Regions from separate parts of the Homo sapiens genome. Here regions 2, 3, 4, 5, 6 and 7 are each linked to region 1. Evidence: promoter capture Hi-C in 16 types of primary human blood cells and fetal thymus (Javierre and others, 2016). All regions are on one chromosome and are shown on one strand. The core of a region is centred on a gene start or on the middle of the fragment in contact, and the rest is flanking DNA. Distances in the headings are between cores, read along the strand shown. Region 1 holds the start of OTUD1 (OTU deubiquitinase 1). Region 2 overlaps THNSL1 (threonine synthase like 1). Region 3 holds the start of TRN-GTT2-3 (tRNA-Asn (anticodon GTT) 2-3). Region 4 overlaps ARHGAP21 (Rho GTPase activating protein 21). Region 5 overlaps LOC105376447 (a long non-coding RNA gene). Region 6 has its middle 6.6 kb from the start of COMMD3. Region 7 overlaps COMMD3-BMI1 (COMMD3-BMI1 readthrough).

Region 1 (2,830 bases), core at 139-2,638:
CAGGCTCTGGTCCCCATACACCGTCTTGCTGACAGCTCGGTAGAGGCAGTTGCCGTCTGGAATGATGTGGAATCGGTACTTATTCCTCTGCCGCAGATACTTGTCCTGCTTCTCCACCTCGGCCAGGTATAGGGCCAGCTTCTCGTCTCTGGGATCCGACCTGGAGACGATCACCGGCTCCGCCGCACTACTCGGGGCGGCCTCGATGCTCCCGGCGGGGGGTGCCTCGGCCTCTGGGTCGGGCCTCCGCGCCGCGTCCCCACCGGGCGCGTCGCAGCGATCGCCGCCCCTCTCCCAGCCCCTGGGGCCCCTCTCCGCCAAGTGCTCTTCGCCCCACGGACCGGGGCCGGGATCGGGGCTCCCCGGGGTCGCCGCGGGGCCTCGGTGCTTGGCGGCGGCCAGGGCCTGGCGGTGCTCGCTCAGTCGGAAGTTCCGATCGGGCCCCTCCCGTGTCGCGTCCAAGCCCGCGGGCTCGGGGCAGTCGGGCCGCAGCAGCTCCTCCAGGAGCCAGGCCGAGGAGCCCCGCCGCGGCGGGACCGGGGCTGCGGGCGCCGGGGCGAGCAGGAGGCAGCGGCCGCGCGGGGCAGCGGCGGAGCCCGCGGCGCCGGGAACGGGATCGGGCCCGTGCAGCAGGAGCCTGTCGGCGCCCAGGGCCCGCACGGTGATCTGTGCGGTGGACGTGTAGTGCGGCGGCAGCGGCGGCTTGCAGGACGCGCCGGGCGGGCCGGCGGCGGCGGAGGCGGGCGCGGCGGCCCCGGACACCACCTCGAAGCAGGAGGAGAAGGCGGGCATCTTGGCGGCGGGGACAGCGGCGGCTTCCCGGTGCTCGGCGGCCGCGGCGGGCTGGCACTCACCGGTCTCGGGCTCGGGCGCGGCGCCGGCGGCTCCCGGGGGCTGCAGCGAGACCTTGAAGGGGGTAGCGGCGGCGGGTGGCGCGGGGGCGGCGGCCGTGGGACCCGGGGCCCCGGCGGGGTAGTGGGTGCAGACGCTGCTGTAGAGCTGCATGTCCCTGCCCGCCGCTCGGCCCCTTATAGGCGCGGCGAGCCCCGGAGCGGGGGACACACCCTCCGGGCCCGGGGGAGGGGGCCGGCGGAGCGCGGTGACCCAACGGCCCCAGAATAGAGATGAGCGAAAGGCAGCCGGCCGCCGCGAGTCAGCAGCCGCGAATAGCGCCCGGGTCCCGGCCAAATTCCTGCTGCGCCACAGCGCAGGGGGGCGGGGACGGGACGCGAGCTCGACCCCTGCCGGTGCGCTCGGCCCGCAGACCCGGGGCGCCGCGCCCGCTGCAGCTGCTTCGGCCCGCGGCGGCCGCTGGGGACTCACGGAGGAAGCCGCCCGCCCCGTTGGAGCGCGTCCCGCCGGCGAGGAGGAGCGCGGTGCGCGCGGAGGCCCGGGAGGCGGGGCCGCGGTTGTTTACCTCAGGCCTCGCGGCCGCGTCACGTGGACTCACTGGAATGCGCGGCTCTTTGCGGCGCCCGATTCAGTCGCGCCTGCTCGCCCCGCCCACTCCGGCCCGCGCCCCGCCCCCTACCGCGCTCCGCCGACGTCACGGGCGTGGCCCTCGGCGCGCGAGCGCGCGCGGGCGGGGCGAGGCCGGGGGCGCGGAGGCCTGAGCAGTCCTGGGATCCTGGCTGGGCCTCCCGCCCACGTGACTCCCACGGACCGCTTCCCCCACCTGGGCACTGGGCACTGGTTTCTGCGCTGCGCCACTCTCCTCAGCGGCTGCAGTGGATGCTGCGGGATGGGAGCTGCTTGGGGCGAGTTAGCATGCTCGGAAAGCTTGCGTGGCAGGAAAGCTTCCGGCATGGGTGTGGAGAACGGAATGCTGCCTTAAAGTCTGTTTGGCCTCTGCTGGTCATGGGCTACCATCCCTGCTTGCATTCACTACTGCCTCTTTTCTTTTATCTTTTTAGAGATGGGGGTCTTACCTGTCTCCGAAGCTAGAGTGTAGTGGCGCAGTCCATAGCTCACTGCAGCCTTGACTTCCCGGGCTCAAGCGATCCTCCCGCCTCAACCTCCAGAGTAACTGGAAACCACAGGTGTGCACCACCGCACCCGGCTAATTTTCTTTCTTTCTTTCTTTCTTTTTTTTTAAGGCGAGGGTCTCACCACAGTTGCCCAGTCTGGTGTCGAACTACTGGCCTCAAGCTGTTTCCCGCCTCGACCTCCTAAAGTGTTGGGATTATGGGTCCTAGCCACCACTCGTGGAACCGCCGCGTCTTTTCCTTTTTTTTTTTTTCTTTTTCTTTTTGAGGCAAGGTCTTGCTCTGCCTTCCAGGCTGAGTGCAGTGGCGCCATCATGTCCCACTGCGACCTCGACCTCCAGGGCCCAAGTGATCCCCCTTCCTCAGCCTTGCCTTGGGCAGGGATTACAGGTGCCCAGCTAGTTTTACCACTGTGTCTTTTCTATGCATTTCCTTGGACTCACCGGTAAGGGTGAGTCCGCTAGTGGATTCTCTTGCCTTGCTAAGACAAAACCAACTTTGCACCTCTGACCTATGCCATTTGGCAAATATCTGGCTTGGGGGAAAGCAAGGAAGCCTTTTAGGCTTTTATAAACAAGCTTTCTCAGAATACCAAATGCAGTATCACTTAGGGCCCTTTGAGAATAGGTGTGAATGCTAGCCAGAGGTCAAAAGCGGTGGAGAAAGTCGTGACCTGCATTCCGGGGCAAGATAGACTATAGAAAATACTTCTACCGAGTCTTTTTGTAATACCCGCCTTTGTAAGGGAAAGCCAGAGGTAGTGGGAGACTTTTGCTATATTCTGAGCTGTGATCAAATGCTAAATTAACAGGGCCTAAACATTCGAATTGAACCCAGAGGTTGTC
Region 2 (2,830 bases), core at 178-2,677, 1.6 Mb before region 1:
AAATAAAACTCTTGCCACAAAAAGATACCTCTTAGCTATATAAGTGTCTATAATAAAATCAAAGCACATATCATAGTGGTTAGCACAAAATATTTACAGTAAGATTAATCATTGTCACTCACTGACAGTGGGCTAGGAATATATAAATTGAACCCAAATATGTAGGTACAAGGCAGGGTGCATTTTTTTTATGGTTTGGTTTATAAACCTTCAGAGAATACCGTGGTGTTCACCCACGAATCAAGAACTGTTTTGCCATGCACAGTCTAATCCTTTCCCTGAAGTAAACCAGGGACCAGAAAGAATTATATACTTGAACCATAACATCAATTTATTTTATTAAACCATATTCTGGTACTGGACTTTAAAAGCACAAACTGCTTTTAGGGCACTTACATAAAACAGTCTGATTAACCTCCTATTCAGGAAGCTTTTGCTTGTAACATTACAGTTTCTTCTTTTTGAGTTTGCAATACATAACTTTCTGATACCTGTATTAGTAATAATTGTATATAATCTGAGTAGATGGTTTTCATGAGCAGTAATTTTTTTTTTTTTTTTGAGAAAGGGTCTTCCACTGTCACCCAGGCTGGAGTGCAGTGGCATGATCTCAGCTCACTGCAGCCTCAACCTCCTGGGCTCAGGTGATCCTCCCACCAGGTGTGCATCACCACACCCAGCTAATTTTTGTAGGTTTTCTAGAGACAGGGTTTCACCATGTTGCCCAGACTGATCTCGAACTCCTGAACTCAAGCAATCCTCCCACTTTGGCCTCCCAAAGTGCTGGGATTAGAGGCATGAACCACCATACTGGCCCAGTAAATCTTTCATCTTTTCTTCCGCTTTATATTGCTTGCTACCATGCTTAACATCAACTTCATTAAAAGTAGATTGTAAGGAAACATTATGTTACCTTCACCTTATGTTTTGCAATCTTACTTTTCCTATATGTTAGTTCCCCTCTACCCTCTTGTTTTTAAATTTTACTTCACTTCCCTTTTTCAAGACTTTGGGGTAGATATATATAGATATAGATATAGATATAGATATAGATATAGATATATTTTAAAGAAAATTATGACAGTTCAATTTGTAAATTCTGTATCAATATTATTTCCCACAAACATGTTCCTTAGACTAGCAGAAGGCAGTTAAGTGCTATAATATATATTATTTCTAAAGAACAATAAAGATATATTCTATTTTAAGCTACATACTAAATTTTATTTTGTAACATTTAACCACAAATTGATTTTAGGGGCTCAACATTTTTTAACCAACCAAATGAGGAAAAGACATCCTCATTTCTTTTTTGAGAACGTCTGCTGCAATGGCCACTCGGGAATATACATAGAAGGCATATATATGGACTTCACCAAAGCATTACACATGGTTCATTTAAAATTTTTTTAATTCACGGAGAAATGGAAAAAAAAGATTTGAGGATATTGTTGAATGATCATAAAAATGGTTCTGTTGAATAGAGGGAAATTTCTGGTAGTGCACTCCAAGGCTTTTGGTCTTGACACTCTTCTCTTTCATGTGTTTAACAATTATTTGGATTAAGCATTGAGAGGGATATTGGATAATTAGCAGTTAATAGGACTGACTTTAGAGTGAGAAAAATCTGCAGATGTGCAAGTCCTTTATATAAAATGGTGTAGTATTTGCATATAACCTGTGCACATCCTCCTGTATACCTTAATCTCTGAATAACTTATAATACATAATACAATGCAAATGCTAGGTACAGAGCTGTTGTACTAATTTGCTTTTTTGTTTGTGGTATTTTTACTGTTCCATTATTTTCGTGTTTTTGTTTGTTTTTCAGACAGGCTCCCACTCTGTTGCCCAGGCAGGAGTGCAGTGGCACAATCTTGGCTCACTACAGCCTTGACTTCCTAGGCTCAAGCAATCCTCCCACCTCAGCCTCCCAAGTAGCTGGGACTAAAGGCACGCACCACCACACCCAGCTAATTTTAGTATTTTTAGTAGAGAGGGGGTTTCGCCATGTTGCCCAGGCTGGTCTCCAACTCCTGGGCTCAAGCAGTCTTCCTGCCTTGGCCTTCAAAAAGTGCTTGGATTGCAGGTATGAGCCACTGTGCCCAACTAAAATTTTAAAATATTTTCAATCTGTAATTAGTTGAATCTGAGAATGGGAAATTCACAGATATGGAGAACTAACTGTGTATCAGGACACAAACTAGCCAAAAGGAGGTTAAGCTCTACTGCTTCTGACTTCTGACCAAAAATTCTCTCAAACTTTTCATTCAGAGGGCCTCCCACTTGCCATGAAACAGAGGTGAGGGTGGAAGGACCACACAATCCAGTATAGTTCTGTAATCACAAGGATCTCACAACTAAAACAATTTTGCAAGTTCATCACTTAGTCTTTATATTACTATCAAAGCTGACTAAGCTTTTTCTGCCGTTAGACTTCTGCTGTTAGACATATTCTTAACGATCTCGAATATTTAATTGAAAACTTTAGTATCCACAATTCTATAACTTTGAGAATTATAAAGAACCTGTCTTTATAAAGGGTTTATTTACCTTCCAATTGTCTTATATACTCATCTACACCCATTTTATTCATTTAAATAGATTAAAATAATCCTTCGCAAAAAAAAAAAAAAAAAAAACAACTCTCATTTGTTTATGTACATCACAGGCATACCATTATATACGGGGATCTAGGATCTGTGCAAACTACAATCCACAGGCTAAATCTGGCCCACCATCATTTTCATAAATCAAGTTTCTTTGAAGCACAACTTCAGTCATTCATGTGCTCACATATTTGTTCAGTACCGTCTTTGGCTGCTTTTGA
Region 3 (2,830 bases), core at 85-2,584, 1.2 Mb after region 1:
GAAATAGTTATTTTCCTGAAATACAACGTTCCAAATGGGAGTTGGCGGGGGGGAGCAACAGTATTTTAATACATTTTGCAATCTGCAATGCTGCTTGATTTTGTTGTATAATTTTGCGATATGCTTAAAAGGTGGAAAATAGAATTAAGAGGGTTGGAAACGTGAAGTAAAATATTTTGGTTCTGATAGTACCAATCAGAAAGCAGAAACAGCCACACACTGCCTTTATTATTCTTCATAAAGGCTGAGGCAGAAGGGGAAAATGACACCGAAGTCTCTGTGGCGCAATCGGTTAGCGCGTTCGGCTGTTAACCGAAAGGTTGGTGGTTCGAGCCCACCCAGGGACGCGCTCTCCTTTTATGAGCTGGTCGCGGGAAGTTTTGCAGAAATCGAGTTCAGGCCTCCGGGATAAGAAGGGGTGGATTTCCAGGGACCAAGCAAAGAAACCACCGACCCTTACACTACGCGGCCAGCCGGCGAGCCCTTCGCTTTCGGCCGGTGCAGAGCGGCCTCCTCTCCCCCGCTGTCCTCTCCCGGCTGCAGGTGAGCGCGGCCACTCCTTCCCCGGGGTCTTCACGGCGGTCTAGGCCTCGCCAGGGTGCTGGAGCGGGGACGCGCAGAGGCCGCGCGGGCCCGTTTGCCGCGCGCGCCCGCCGCTCCAGCTCTGCGCGTCCCCGGAGGCCCGCGCGTACACGGGGAAGGCGGCCCGGGCTGGTCTTGCTCGGCTTCGTGACGCGTGAAATGTAACGGGGCCACCGAAATGCATGTATTTCAACAGTGTCAAGTTCAAGCTGCAAACTGAAAACTCCTACATTTTGTTGAAGCATGGCCGCCCTTTTGTCTGTTCCCTGTCAGCGTAAACATCTCCGTTTGCGACTTAAACATTAATTGTTCCTGGTATTAATGCCTTCAGAAATAATTTTTGTGTAGTAAATCTTTCGTGTGGACAATATTGTAAGAATATATATTATATTTTACTTTTTCTACTAAAACGCTTGAATTTAGTAGAGAATAGAATAAGCCTGCAACACTTCCCATCAAGGCGGAAAAGGAGAAAACCTCTTTTACAATAGTATGACTGTTAAACCTGAAAAAAAAGAATGATGAGAAAGATTGAATGTGAAGCTGCTACCATACTTTGCTTCAACTTTCTACTTTCAACGTCCCCTACCTTTTATTTCCCCAAATGCAAAGCCCTCTCAAAATAGTTTCCTTCTATTTTATTACTTTGAGAAATAATCATAGTTTCATCATAATAATTATTGTTTTGGCTTGGACTACAGAAAATTGAAAGACAGTTTTGAAGAAAAGTGTAAGAACTAATACATCTTATTCCTGTGGATATATTGTTTTATATTCGTTATGTTTCAGCTCAGTTGACATATTAATAAAGGCTTATTTTATTGAGTGCTTTCGTGGAGAAAGGTATGTAATCTTCATAAGTCTTCCAGGTCCTATTATTGCCATTGTACAGATGAGGCAACTGAGGCACAGTGCGACTGAGTAAATAGCTGAGTAATTTGCCGGAAGTCACAGTGAGTTTGGAACCTGGGTAGTCAGGCCCAAGCCCAAGCTCCTCCCTGATGTACTGCCTTCTTGGAAGTTCCTTCCTCTAAAATACAGCTACCTAATTAGTTAATTTGAAACCAAAAGATACTTGAATTGGTTTTTATGAAGTTTCGTTAATATTTTGCTCCAAATCTTGTAAAGGGGGTAAAATAAAAACCAACACAACATTTGTGGCGTGCTAAAGGGCATTGTTAAATTATGCATTCATTGGGCTGCTCAATTTTATTCAAATGAAAGCTGTGTGTGCATAGGAAGTATTCCTGGGGAATCTGTCTTAGGGAAACAATTTGTTAGCATTTAGGTACAGAAGGCAAGATGAGAGAGAGAGGCAGGCAAAATCTGGAAGGAGACAGATTCAGGATAGATTCAGGCCATGGAGTCTAGAGACTAAGGATTCTTTGACCCCAAGCTGATGTTTGGGAATTGGCACATCCACGTAGACCCCTGTTTCAGGACACTTTTGTGAGATAGTACCAGAATTTGTACTTGACCAGGGGCCTAGGTGGCAGTTTAAAATTTGATCTTAAATTTCTAAATACATTCTATTTCACCCTATTTTGGGTATTAATATGATTTAGAGACCAGAAAATGGAGGAGAATTAAATGGGAATGGAGGTGTCACACTGAGTGCAAAACTCCCCTCTAATGTAAGCAGAAGCAGTTGCTGTGATTATGTGGACAAGTGCTTAGGCCATTTCCTTGGCTCTTGCAGGCAGGTAAGATAGGTGGGTCCCAGTGTGGGTGGCTGACACCGGTAGTCTCAGCACTTTAGGAGGCCAAGGCAGGAGGATTACTTGAGCCCAGGAGTTGGAGACCAGCCTGGGCGACAGAATGAGACAGCATCTCTACACAAAATAAAAAATTAACCCAGCATGGTGATCACTTCATTGCACTCCAGCGTGGGTGACAGAGTGAGACCCTGTCTCAAGAAAAAAAAAAAGGTAGGTGGGCAACAATTTGGAAGAATTGCACAAATATTTATGGATGCATTGGCCTTATAAAATTTCAACGTGTCATGGTTGTTGATGTTGCAATAAATGCTATTTCTGAGGAGCATCTTTTTGTCCTTAATTTCTGGGCTCTGTAATACCAGCCAAACCTAGATATATGTCAAGATCATTTAAAGCTTTAATTAAAGGCTGAATAGCATTTAAAAGGCTATGTTGTATATTTGAGTATGTAAATATGTTCCTAATGTTGCTAATAGAGTTGTATACTTAAACTGCGTATACACAATCAGAGGGAAATTCACTGAAGTAAC
Region 4 (2,830 bases), core at 178-2,677, 1.2 Mb before region 1:
TTTGAAATCTAGCCATTCATTGCTTTGGAGGGCGTCTTTCAGAATAAATAGCTAAGTATTTAAGGGGAGCTAGTGATAGATATTCCTTTATTAAGTAACTTCCTTTAAGCCATCTTGGTGCATACACTATGGTAACAATTCAGTTTTATATGGCAATAATTATGAACTCTTTGTATTTGACACTCAATCATTTTTTGCCCAGTATTGCTGTTTAACAAGTAGTATCATGTTACTCAACACATGTATATGCCTTATTTTCTCAGTTACATTCTTCTTTAAGGGTCAGGACTGTGTCTTCTACTTCAGTGATTCTCAAACTTAAGTGTGCATCACAATCACCTCAGAGTTTCTGATTCAGGAGATCTAGGGTGGGGTCCACAAATTTGCATTCCTAACATATTCCCAGGTGATACTGATGCTGCTGGTCCTGGGACCACACCTTTAGAACTACCGTGTACCTCCTTCTTCCCCCACAATACTTATGCTGTTTGTCACTTAGCTTAAATGTCCTCTCATCTGCGAATTTTTCCTTGACTTCTATTTCACTGAAACAACTAGTTGTTCTCAAAATTTAATGTGTATTAGGATCATCTGGGAAACTTGTTGACAGAGCAGATTTCTGGTCAGACTCCAAAACATCCATTTTTAGCAAACACCTTAGATGTTAATGCCAATGATCCATGGAAAACAGCTTGTGAAATTCTGACTTACGGGGTTGATCATGCTCTCCTCATTGCCATGACTGTATTTTGTATTTGTCTCTGATTGTTTTTTATACTATACTGTTATTTGTTTGTATGTCTTTCTCCTCCTACCAGACTCCCTGAAGGGAAAGGAATATGTCTTGTTCATTGTTACATTTTAATGCTTAGCACAATGCAGTATTAAGAAGCAGTAGAGGCTGGGCACGGTGGCTCACGCCTGTAATCCCAGCACTTTGGGAGGCCAGGGCGGGTGAATCACGGGGTCAGGAGTTCGAGACCAGCCTGGCCAATATGGTGAAACCCCGTCTCTACTAAAACATACAAAAATTAGCAGGCGGGGTGGTGTACACCTGTAGTCCCAGCTACTCAGGAGGCTGAGGCAGGAGAATCACTCGAACCCGGGATGTGGAGGTTGCAGTGAGCCAAGATTGCACCACTGCACTCCAGCCTGGGTGACAGAGTGAGACTCCATCTCAAAAAAACAAAACAAAACAAAACAAAACAAAAAACAAAAGCCATGGAGTGAGTACCGCCTGTGTAATCATCTTTGGCACTTGTTAGCTGTTTGACCTTGGAGACTTTATTTAATCCCTCTAAGCTTCAGTTTCCTCTTTTATGAATGGTAGTAGTAGTACTTACTTGCTGTGGAAATTAGCTCTGAGATACAGTATTTAGTGTGGCAACTGACATACGGAATGTAGCCAGTAAATGGAAAGCATTACAGTGTTGTGGTTGTCATTATGTTATGGAAGAAGCAAAATAAATGTTTGAATTAAATGAAAACCCCTACATTATAATTTTAGCATCCAAATTCAGGATATGTATTTAATATTTCATTAAAAAGCTTTGCTTAATTCTCTCAAATACTATTTTATATTTAGGTATTTTAGTAAAGTATTGTGAAGTAAAATCATGCTTTGGGCTTCTCTGTAACAGGAAAACAAAGAAACCGCTTGGAACCAATGGATACCATATTTGTTAAGCAAGTTAAAGAAGGAGGACCTGCTTTTGAAGCTGGATTATGTACAGGTGCTGATATTCTTCTTTAAACAATACGTTTTAATTTCTTTTTCACTTTATTTCTTCCATATTTCATGTTCGATATTTTTTCCTTTTGTATCTTTCTGTATGCTTCTTCCTTTTCCTTCACATCTGTTGTTACTAATTTTGAGAACTAATTATGTTTCTTGGTGCCCATATGAATGGGTTTGAACAGAAATAACAATATAAATTGATACACTGTGAGCACTTTTAATTACCACACAGATGATAGACTCTTAGAGGCTCTTTAAAGGAACAAATTTTGCATGCATTGAATTTTGACAAAGGATTACAAAGTAGCAAAATGATGAAGGTATTTATTTGATATAAGTGAAATAATCTTGGATTTTCAAGTTCTGGAAGTGCCTGATCTGACAGAGTTGAGTTAATTAATTTGCAGCACAAAGTGGCTTAAGTCTCCAATGCGGAACATAAGCCTGGCTTCATCTGAAGGTGTCAGTATATGTGGCTTAATTGGCTGGATATAGTAGCTGTTTGTTCTAAAATGTTTTGTGATTTGTGATTTTAATAAACCCTAAGTAGAGATTTCATTTATATTAGTGCACACTCTAAAATACTCTTTTCTTTTGTTTTTTAAACATTAGACAATTTAAAATGGGAATTATTGAAAAGCTATATTTCACTGCCTTTTAAATACAATGCTATATTTTCACCTACAAATATTAGAAAGTAGTGGACATCATTGCTAAGATTTATAAGGATGTACTGTTAATGTATTACCCACCTTAGTTTTTTTTATTATACTTAAAGTAAGCCTGATTTAAATATCATTAATATGTATAATATGTATATTAGTATGCATGTGGGATTTCTTTAGAATGTATCATCTGTCGTATTTTAAGCCCCACATGATTGGGAAGATGAAGTGGAGATATGCTGTGATAAGCACACAAAAAGTACATTTTTGCCTATTTTCTTCTTTCCTCTGTTCTTTGTTTCTGTCTTTTCCTTTCCTACTCTACTCAGAGTAGAAAGAGAATTGCTTGAACCCGGGAGGCAGAGGTTGCAGTAAGCCGAGATTGCACCACTGTACTCCAGCCTGGGAGACAAGAGTGAGACTCTGT
Region 5 (2,830 bases), core at 194-2,693, 1.2 Mb after region 1:
AAACCCTATCTCTAGTAAAAATACAAAAATTAGCTGGTTGTGGTGGCACATGCCTGTAATCCCAGCTACTCGGGAGGCTGAGGCAGGAGAATCGCTTGAACCTGGGAGGCAGCGATTGCAGTGAGCCGAGATCGCGCCACTGCACTCTAGCCTGGCAGCAGAGTTATCTCTGTAACTCTCCATCTCAAAAAAAAACAAAAAAAATTGAAAGGAAATATAGAATTTGTAGTATGAAAGGATTTCTTAAACAAAACATTAAAATACACAATCCATTAAGGAAATGATCAATTGGATGACAGTCATGCTCCAAATAATGATATGTTAGTCAATACATGATAATAGTCCCATAAGGTTATAATATTGTATATTTACTGTACCTTTTCTATGTGTAGATGTGTCTAATTATACAAATACCATTGTGTTACAATTGCCTACAGTATTCAATACAGTCACATGCTGTACAGGTTTGCAGCCTAGGAGCAATAGGCTTGTACCATATACAAACCATCTAGGTTTGTGTAATTACACTCTATGATGTTAGCATGACAAAACTGCCTATGGACCTATTTCTCAGAATATGTCCCTGTAGTTGAGTGCCATGTGACTGTATATAAAAATTTTTAAAAATACTTTTTACATGACAAAAGATATCATAAAATGTTACAAGATAAACTGAGAAGATATTTTCAAGGCATGTACTTGGTGAAGGATTCATATTCAAAATGTATAAATAACTTATATAGAAAGAATTTACTAATTTATGTATAATGAATTTCATAAATAAAAGATGTGGGCCAGGATATATACATATGAAGTGAAAGTATAGTACTATCAATAGGATGAATACATATCAACTTCAAAAAATGTAATTTCCTTTGGGATAGAAAGAAAGAAGGAAGGAGGGGGAATAGGAAGAGGGCAACAACTTCCTGCCCAGGGGGCAACAACTCTTTTTTTTTTTTTTTTTGAGACAGAGTCTTGCTTTTGTCCCCCAGGCTTGAGTACAATGACTCGATCTCGGCTCACTGCAACCTCCGCCTCTCGGGTTCAAATGATTCTCCTGCCTCTGCCTCCCAAGTAGCCAGTTAAGGCACCTGCCACCATGCCCGTCTAATTTTTGTGTTTTTTAGTAGAGACGGAGTTTCACCATTTTGGCCAGGCTGGTCTCGAACTCCTGACCTCAGTTGATCCGCCCACCTCAGCCTCCCAAAGTGCTGGGATTACAGGCATGAGCCACTGCGCCCAGCCCACAGCAATTCTTTATAAAAAGATCAGAGGCAACTATGGGAAGACATTAACACTTTTTGTTCTTTGTAGATTGTTAAAAGCTTGTTATAATTTATTTAAAAATCTCTAACATCAATTCCTAGTCTAAAGAATGAACAAATGACACATTTCTTTTCCTTAGTCAATAATAATCTTGTAAGATGGTGTTCACGTGCTTTTCTTTGAGGGCAAAGAAAACACCATTCCCCAGTGTTTTTCCTGGGCAGTGTTTGAATATTATATGATACTCACAGCAGAGATTTTCCTAGTTTGGCTTCTGTTGTAAGCTTGTTTTCTGAGTAGATTTAAATGAGAAGAACAGAAACATATTTGAAACTATGACTATGTATAAGAGCATTTATTCTCCTATAATGAAATCGTGGAAAATGTTTTTAAAAAGTGAGCAAACAAAAACCTCCACACCATTATAGAAACACGGTTAAAAAACTATTGAATAATCTCAAGCCTAGTGTGTAATAATTATTAAGTGTGTCTAATTTGTTGTGCTAAGTGTCAGGAATTGGTATTGTGGAAGGATATGTGAGATCTCATTTTCTCCTTTTATATGGCAGGAGTTTATACAGTATTTACATCTGTCATTGATACTTTTTATGAACAGAAGTTTTGTTTACTTATAACTTCCACAGGGATTATTCATATGGAGCACTGGAAAGATGTAACATTTCATTTGCTTTGATACCTTGTGTTTATTTTAGGTCGAAAAGCATCATGAAGCCAAGTGGTTATTGTTTTGCTTATTCAGTGTGAACTGAGTGAGCCAGGTTTGTATACCAAGTGATTCTCGTGGTGGACAATACCAATATGATTATGCCAAATGCATTGCTTCTGAGGCATCACTCTTTGGGCACATATAGACCCTGCTGATTTCTGCCAAAGCACTCTTCTTAAAGTTCCAAAACATTACCCCAAAACCTCTATAGCCCCCTATTGCCAACAAAATTAAAGCCTTTCTCTTCATTGGCATTAGAAGCCCCTGTAACCCATTGCTTTTCCATTTCCAGCCTCTTTCCAAAATTACCAAACAAACTCTGTATCCTGCAGCCACCAAACTGTACTAGTTGTAATATATTCACTAAGAACAGTGGTCTCTCATTTGTCTCTCTTTTCTCTCTTCTTATATCAGTTAGAATGTAACAGACAACCCAGCTAACACAGAGGCTCATTTTTCTTATGTGACAAGAAGTCTGTAGATAAAGAGTTGCTAGTGTTTTCTTGGGGGTTCAGTGATATCACCTCTGTGATTCAGTTGACCTTCATATCATAGTTGCAAAATGGCTGCCGTAAGTACAAAAACCACACTGACTGCTGGGTGGGAAGGCAACAGAAAATTTGTTCTTGGTGAGTCTTACTCACGTCAAGGAAGTATAATATTTTCCAAAATGCCCCACCAAAGGATTTCCTCTTACATCATATTAGCCAGAACTGGGACATATTATCACCCTTTATCTGGGGTAGAGGCCCACATTTCCACATCAAAGGGAATTTGCTCAATGCCTAAATCAAACTGGAATTCAGTTAAGCAAAGAAGAAACAGAGGAATGGT
Region 6 (2,830 bases), core at 221-2,720, 1.1 Mb after region 1:
ATGTGTACACAGACAGTCCTTTAAATTGTTTTATATCTTTAAAAAGAGGGAGGGAAGGAGGGAAGAAGAGAGAGAAAGGGGGGAAAGAGGAAGAGGAAGGAAGAGAGAAAGGACCTGAGAAGTGTCACAGAAAGCTTATTTAGTGTTTATTTTCTGTGACACAATCCAAGATTCTTTTAGCTACAATGAATTCAACTAAGCTTCATTAGTAAGGCTTGGAAAAGACTGAAAGATCATCTGTTTTGTCCAGAATCTAATCAGTTTCAAGATGTCCTACATTTAGACTACAACAGCAGAGAATGTCTAACAGAGTCTCTTCGTTTTTTAGGTCTGGATTTGGAATCTCTGTGTTTTTTCATACCTTAGAAATTGGAGTTTGGGTTGGTTTCACGAATTCCAGCAAAAAATGGAACAAATGGGCCTATGCTGTGGGATATTATTGTTGAAAGCCAGTAACTTTTTCAAGTTTGTATTTTGAGAACATGCTTTTTACATGTTAAAATGTGTACAAATAAGTATATTTTGTTTAAGGAACTATAATTTTACAAACAAAAATGAAAACAAAAATAAAGGTTTTTGTAGATTAAAACCAAAGTAACAGTATAATTGCTTATAAACTGAAAAATGTAACTATATTCACTTGTCAAATGAAGCATTTTAGAATGGAAGTTAGTATATAAGAAGGGATGATTTGCATTAAATACATTATAAACAGTTAAGGAGACTTTACAGCTAAAGTACTTTTAACTCATTTAAAGTAAGCATTTAAACCAAAATTAATATTTCAAAAGAGCTTACATGGCAATGAAAGCCTAGATAAGTGTTTTAATATTTTTAATTGTGTACAATATTTAAAATGATACTGGTTAAGAATTTAACATTTTGGGCCGGGCGCGGTGGCTCACGCTTGTAATCCCAGCACTTTGGGAGGCCGAGGTGGGTGGATCATGAGGTCAGGAGATCGAGGCCATCCTGGCCAACATGGTGAAACGCTGTCTCTACCAAAAATACAAAAATTAGCCAGGCGTGGTGGCATGCATCTGTAATCCAGCTACTAGGGAGGCTGAGGCAGGAGAATTGCTTGAACCTGGGAGTCGGAGGTTGAGTGAGCCAAGATCGTGCCATTGCACTCCAGCCTGGCAACAGAGTGAGACTCTGTCTCAAAAAAAAAGAATTTAACTTTTCTATTATGGTTGTTATATTCAACAGAATACTGATTTTATCCCCCTTTTCAAATTAAATATAGACTTGAAGCCATTTTATGGATAAGTCAGTCTAAAAACTACATTTTTAAAAATCCTAGTAGAATAATTGTGTTCAGCTTTTTCACATTTGTTACATAGCTAGAACTATTCAGAAAATACTTTGAATTGTTTATACGTAGCTGATTTTTACACCGTGGTGAATGTTTAGAAAGTAGTTTTACAGAGTTTTGAGAAAACAAGCACCTAAAAAAATAGATTAAACTTTTCCACTGTGTTTCTTCCCATATACTCAGTTTTTCCCTGAACTTTTGTTTCATTGTTTTATTAAGGTTAAAACATAAATGTTTTTCTAACTCTCTCAAATGTTATTTTCAAAATTAATTTTCTTTGTGTAAGCATTTTAATCTATATTTTATGAAAGGGGATGGGGAGGCAAGTTTTATAAAATCTTTTTAATGTAACAAAACACCAAGAAAATAATGACTAGCAACAGGTGAAAGGGAGAATTGTATTTATATAGTCAGTTTAGTCCATGTAATTAGAAACTTGGACCTGAATTACTGGCGTAATTACTCAACTTTCTTTTCTTTTTTTCTTTTTTCTTTTTTTTTAATGCTAACAGAAATAGGCCGGATCATTTAGAGCAGCAGTATTCTAAATCAAAATTAATCAGATAATTGGCAACTTTTATTTGACTTTTAGTGCTCTATAAATTACAGACCAAAAACAGGAGAAATTTGCTAAAGAATAACAATGTAGATGGAAATATGTGGGTAAACAAGGCCCTAAGAAAACTGAATTTTCAAATGGTTTTCTTAGAATTTGAAAATGAAAGAAAATTTTAAATTAGGCCTAGCTGTGATATATAGGTGAGTAGTTGATAGATCTATAAGAAAACTTTTATTTTTGCTTAAACAATAATTAAAATGTTTATGAATTGAAATAAAAAATAGTTTTATAAGACCAAAAGTATCAATAAAGACATACATATTTTGTTTTATAAGTTTCAATAGCAATATACATTCTTCTTTATAAAGAACTTTCAACAGTGTATACTGGAAATGTTGGAAAAAAATTGATTTTGCACTTGTCAATTATAATAGAAGGAAAATAATATTCTTACATATGTTTTTATATACTTTTGAAAGTTGCCTTAAATTATTTTTGTAGCAAGATGAACATAAATAAAAATATAAAATACAGATGTTTAGAAGTCAGTTTAACCAATAATTAAAGTGCTTCTAGAAACCTAAAAGAGTGTTTTCAAACGAATACTTTTAAATTAATTTTAATTTCATTTTGGTTTTATTCTATTTCTAAAAGTTGCTATGATCAATATTTGTCTGTTTGTAGAAACTATGACATCTATGATGACAAATGTTCAAACTGAGTCATAATGATAGTCTGTTAGGTTAAAATCAAGAGTCACTACAGGAGAGTAGTCATTTTGCAAACATCCTGCCGTGTTAACAGGGGTTGGGGGAAAGCATATGTCATAAAGTAACAGACTTAAATCTTTAGCTAAGTAAGCTTTAAGTATCTGTCCATTGCTATAAATAGTATAAAGACAATCTAACTGTGTTTGCTTAAGCTTTTTATCTTAGCTTTCTTTTATGGTATTAAAG
Region 7 (2,830 bases), core at 173-2,672, 1.1 Mb after region 1:
TTCCCTCCCCTAAAAGGTTTACCATCAGCAGAAGGATGAGCTGCATAAAAATCCCTTCTTCTCTTCATTTCATCTGAATGGGGAAAAAAGATGTAAACATTTGGCATAACACAAAGAACTAATGAATAATCTCTTTAAATTCATTTTCTAAGCAAGTTACTCACTTTTGAAAAGCCCTGGAACTAATTTGTATACAATATCTTGGAGAGTTTTATCTGACCTGAAAAATAATTAAAATAGAAAACTATGAATTCAGATGGCAAGAACTAAAAATGTTCATAAGTTTCTATAGTCTTCTTTTGTGCTATAATATTTTACTTGATTGTGATGCTGTCTATAACTATTATTGATAAGATAAAAACTATGAGAATAAAAGTTCTCTGTATATAGCACTTTTTAAATCAGTAGAAAAATATTTTATATTCACTAATAAATTCTTCACATTTGCTCTGTCAAAAGAAGTGTGCCTTTCAAGTTACTAAACTAGCTAATATGAATAGGGAATAAAGAGGAATGGAAGCCCTTTTAAATATTTATTCCTGCCTGTCATGAAGTCCATAAAGCAATGCAAAAAAGGTGAACTAACTCAGTTTTTAAAGGACAGTTAGGAAAAAAAAATCTTAAAATCACTTGAATACTACTAAACTTTGTCTAAACTTGGTCACCATTAATATGGCAAGAAATTAAACGGCTACCCTCCACAAAGCACACACATATTAGTTATGTATTCAAGAGTAAATTTTCTGTGAAGAAATAAAGAGGGTTGCCTTCAGTAAATTATACAACTCCAATAATAATTACAAACAAGGAATTTCAACAGTTTCCTACCTTATATTCAGTAGTGGTCTGGTCTTGTGAACTTGGACATCACAAATAGGACAATACTTGCTGGTCTCCAGGTAACGAACAATACACGTTTTACAGACTAGAAGTAGAACATGTGAAGTTTTTTTATGTTTAGAAATGAGTGGATAAATCATTGGTGTTAGAAACCCAGAACTAGTAGAAAACAAGATGGTGAAAGGCATTTCCAACTAAATAAGCTAATTCATATCCTGAGAACACATATATTGCATGCTTGTAATACAATCAATACATATTAACAAAAAGTCATTAGATGCAAGAGAAGAAAATGCCTTCACCACTTTGTACCAACATTTCCACAGATTGCAGGAATCATTAACAGTTTTCAAATTCCAGGTCGAACTGTGAAATACGCATGATACAAAAGAGAGCTAAAGCTCGGTACTTACAGGAATGTAGACATTCTATTATGGTTGTGGCATCAATGAAGTACCCTCCACAAAGCACACACATCAGGTGGGGATTTAGCTCAGTGATCTTGATTCTCGTTGTTCGATGCATTTCTGCTTGATAAAAAATCCTGCAAGACACAGAAATAATGGCCATAATTCACAGAACAAGAATGGAGATCATCTAGTAATCACAAACCCTGAAACACTGAATTTATAAAACTCATTTAACACTGTACAGCTGGGCTGTCCTAACGTTTCTACAGAAGGAATTTACTCATCAGATCGGAATCAGTTCTACCAAACTGATGCAAAAGGATCCAACTAACATTACTTCTGGTCTCTCAGATCATTCCTGTAGGTAGAAGAAAGTCTGGGGTGGGGGCTGGGAGCTGAGCGTATTAGGGTCTCTTTCTTCCATTTGTCCTCCAGCCCAGCAGCCCCAAGGCTGCTGCAGACGCCACACAATCCCCGCGGATATTTACCAACCACTAGGGCTTGTTCCAGGTCTCCGAATTTATTATAAAACTTCCTCAAGAATCTGCAAGTGAAAATCCGGGGTTCCGGTTGTTTTAGACGGTTCCAGCAAGCAGAACCTGGCACGTTTTTACGCGACGCGCAGGGAAAACAATTCTGCCCTCCCTGCATCCCTGGCATTTCCGGAGCCGGGTGCTGGGGCCGCAGGAGGAGCACCTCCAGTCGGCCTGGGCCGGGGCCTGAGCGCGGCGGACGCCCGGGGGCCGGGATGCGAGGGGCGGATCCGGCGGCGCCCGGGGCTCCGTCTCGCTCCGGATTCGGAACTCGCCTCGGTCGGGGTTTCCATAGCAACTTACACTTACACTTGGCATCCGGCCACCGCTGCAACTCCGCGCGGAGCCCGGCCCGAGCCCCGAGCCTCGGCGGGCGTGCGGGGCGGCGGGCGGGCGGGCGGGCGGGGGAGGGGCGGCGCGCCGCGGGGGCGGGGCCGGCGCGGGGGCGGGGTGGGTGCGGCGACGCCGGGGGGGCGGGGCAGCCCCACGAGGCCACAGCGCTGGGGAGCGGGGAGCGGGGATCGGGGACCAGGGACCCAGTCCTGGGCGGCGGGGACCCCGGAGCCTGCGGCAGCGCCCGCGAAAGGAAAATGCAAACCGCACTCCCGGCCATTTCGGACACTCCGGGGGCCTCTTTTCACGTCGACTTGGTGCGCAGAGCTGGTTTCAGATCTCGACTCTCTCGGTCTGTCCTGTCTGCAATCACTCGGTCAGAAATTTCACGAAGGGATTTTTTGAGAATTGCCAACTGTGCACTTAGCCCGAAACCGTCAGGGCTCAAATTGCAGAGATGTTTATTGAACCGAACCTCTTTAAAACTTCCTTCTCTAATGTGACGCTCTCCTGTAGATTAAATGAGCGATACAAAGTTTTGGAAAGGCTGAAAACTGAAATCTGTTTTACAAGAAGAGGAGAGGGCAAAGCCCAGTGTTTTATTTGGACAAACTATGCTGGGGGCAAGAAAAAGTACTTTAATCGGTACAATAGTGACAATATGTACAGAACCATGTGACCAGCCCATTTCCAACGCTAAATCAACAGCTTGTC

Evidence for each region. Contacts are between HindIII fragments. The CHiCAGO score rates a contact against its expected background, and 5 or more counts as called.
Region 2: a contact is called between a fragment that was not itself captured here and the fragment with the promoter of OTUD1 in region 1, in 1 of 17 cell types (non-activated CD4 T cells). The highest score is 5.3, in non-activated CD4 T cells.
Region 3: a contact is called between a fragment that was not itself captured here and the fragment with the promoter of OTUD1 in region 1, in 1 of 17 cell types (total B cells). The highest score is 6.9, in total B cells.
Region 4: a fragment that was not itself captured here is called in contact with the fragment with the promoter of OTUD1 in region 1 in 1 of 17 cell types (total CD8 T cells); the score reaches 5.1 in total CD8 T cells.
Region 5: a fragment that was not itself captured here is called in contact with the fragment with the promoter of OTUD1 in region 1 in 1 of 17 cell types (non-activated CD4 T cells); the score reaches 5.4 in non-activated CD4 T cells.
Region 6: a fragment that was not itself captured here is called in contact with the fragment with the promoter of OTUD1 in region 1 in 1 of 17 cell types (total B cells); the score reaches 5.5 in total B cells.
Region 7: a contact is called between a fragment that was not itself captured here and the fragment with the promoter of OTUD1 in region 1, in 1 of 17 cell types (total B cells). The highest score is 5.2, in total B cells.

The regions. Positions count from the first base shown.
Region 1 is chr10:23,437,633-23,440,462 of GRCh38, reverse strand. OTUD1 (OTU deubiquitinase 1) reads right to left here and starts at 1,388. Exons shown (of 1, transcript NM_001145373.3): 1 at 1-1,388. The coding sequence starts at 1,005. RefSeq lists silencers at 170-539, 680-1,019, 1,070-1,659. The HindIII fragment of the contact is 7,031 bases long and covers 1-1,781 here.
Region 2 is chr10:25,018,472-25,021,301 of GRCh38, reverse strand. The region is part of intron 1 of THNSL1 (threonine synthase like 1); the gene reads right to left. It also overlaps a transcript of ENKUR not described here. Among named protein-coding and RNA genes, the nearest start is that of THNSL1, 3.3 kb to the right of the region's middle. The HindIII fragment of the contact is 1,989 bases long and covers 433-2,421 here.
Region 3 is chr10:22,227,026-22,229,855 of GRCh38, reverse strand. TRN-GTT2-3 (tRNA-Asn (anticodon GTT) 2-3) reads left to right here and starts at 274; the gene lies at 274-347. RefSeq lists a silencer at 573-822. The HindIII fragment of the contact is 2,726 bases long and covers 1-2,697 here.
Region 4 is chr10:24,633,914-24,636,743 of GRCh38, reverse strand. It overlaps ARHGAP21 (Rho GTPase activating protein 21), which reads left to right. Exons shown (of 26, transcript NM_020824.4): 5 at 1,641-1,733. Among named protein-coding and RNA genes, the nearest start is that of ARHGAP21, 89 kb to the left of the region's middle. The HindIII fragment of the contact is 246 bases long and covers 1,305-1,550 here.
Region 5 is chr10:22,246,958-22,249,787 of GRCh38, reverse strand. It overlaps LOC105376447 (a long non-coding RNA gene), which reads left to right. Exons shown (of 2, transcript XR_001747390.3): 2 at 1-2,368. Among named protein-coding and RNA genes, the nearest start is that of TRN-GTT2-3, 19 kb to the right of the region's middle. The HindIII fragment of the contact is 225 bases long and covers 1,331-1,555 here.
Region 6 is chr10:22,308,386-22,311,215 of GRCh38, reverse strand. No RefSeq gene overlaps it. Among named protein-coding and RNA genes, the nearest start is that of COMMD3, 6.6 kb to the left of the region's middle. The HindIII fragment of the contact is 2,535 bases long and covers 203-2,737 here.
Region 7 is chr10:22,324,985-22,327,814 of GRCh38, reverse strand. COMMD3-BMI1 (COMMD3-BMI1 readthrough) reads right to left here. Exons shown (of 14, transcript NM_001204062.2): 6 at 1,254-1,384; 7 at 829-925; 8 at 165-220; 9 at 23-73. BMI1 (BMI1 proto-oncogene, polycomb ring finger) reads right to left here. Exons shown (of 10, transcript NM_005180.9): 2 at 1,254-1,384; 3 at 829-925; 4 at 165-220; 5 at 23-73. The coding sequence starts at 1,365. Among named protein-coding and RNA genes, the nearest start is that of BMI1, 5.3 kb to the right of the region's middle. RefSeq lists a silencer at 1,899-2,278. The HindIII fragment of the contact is 3,267 bases long and covers 1-2,830 here.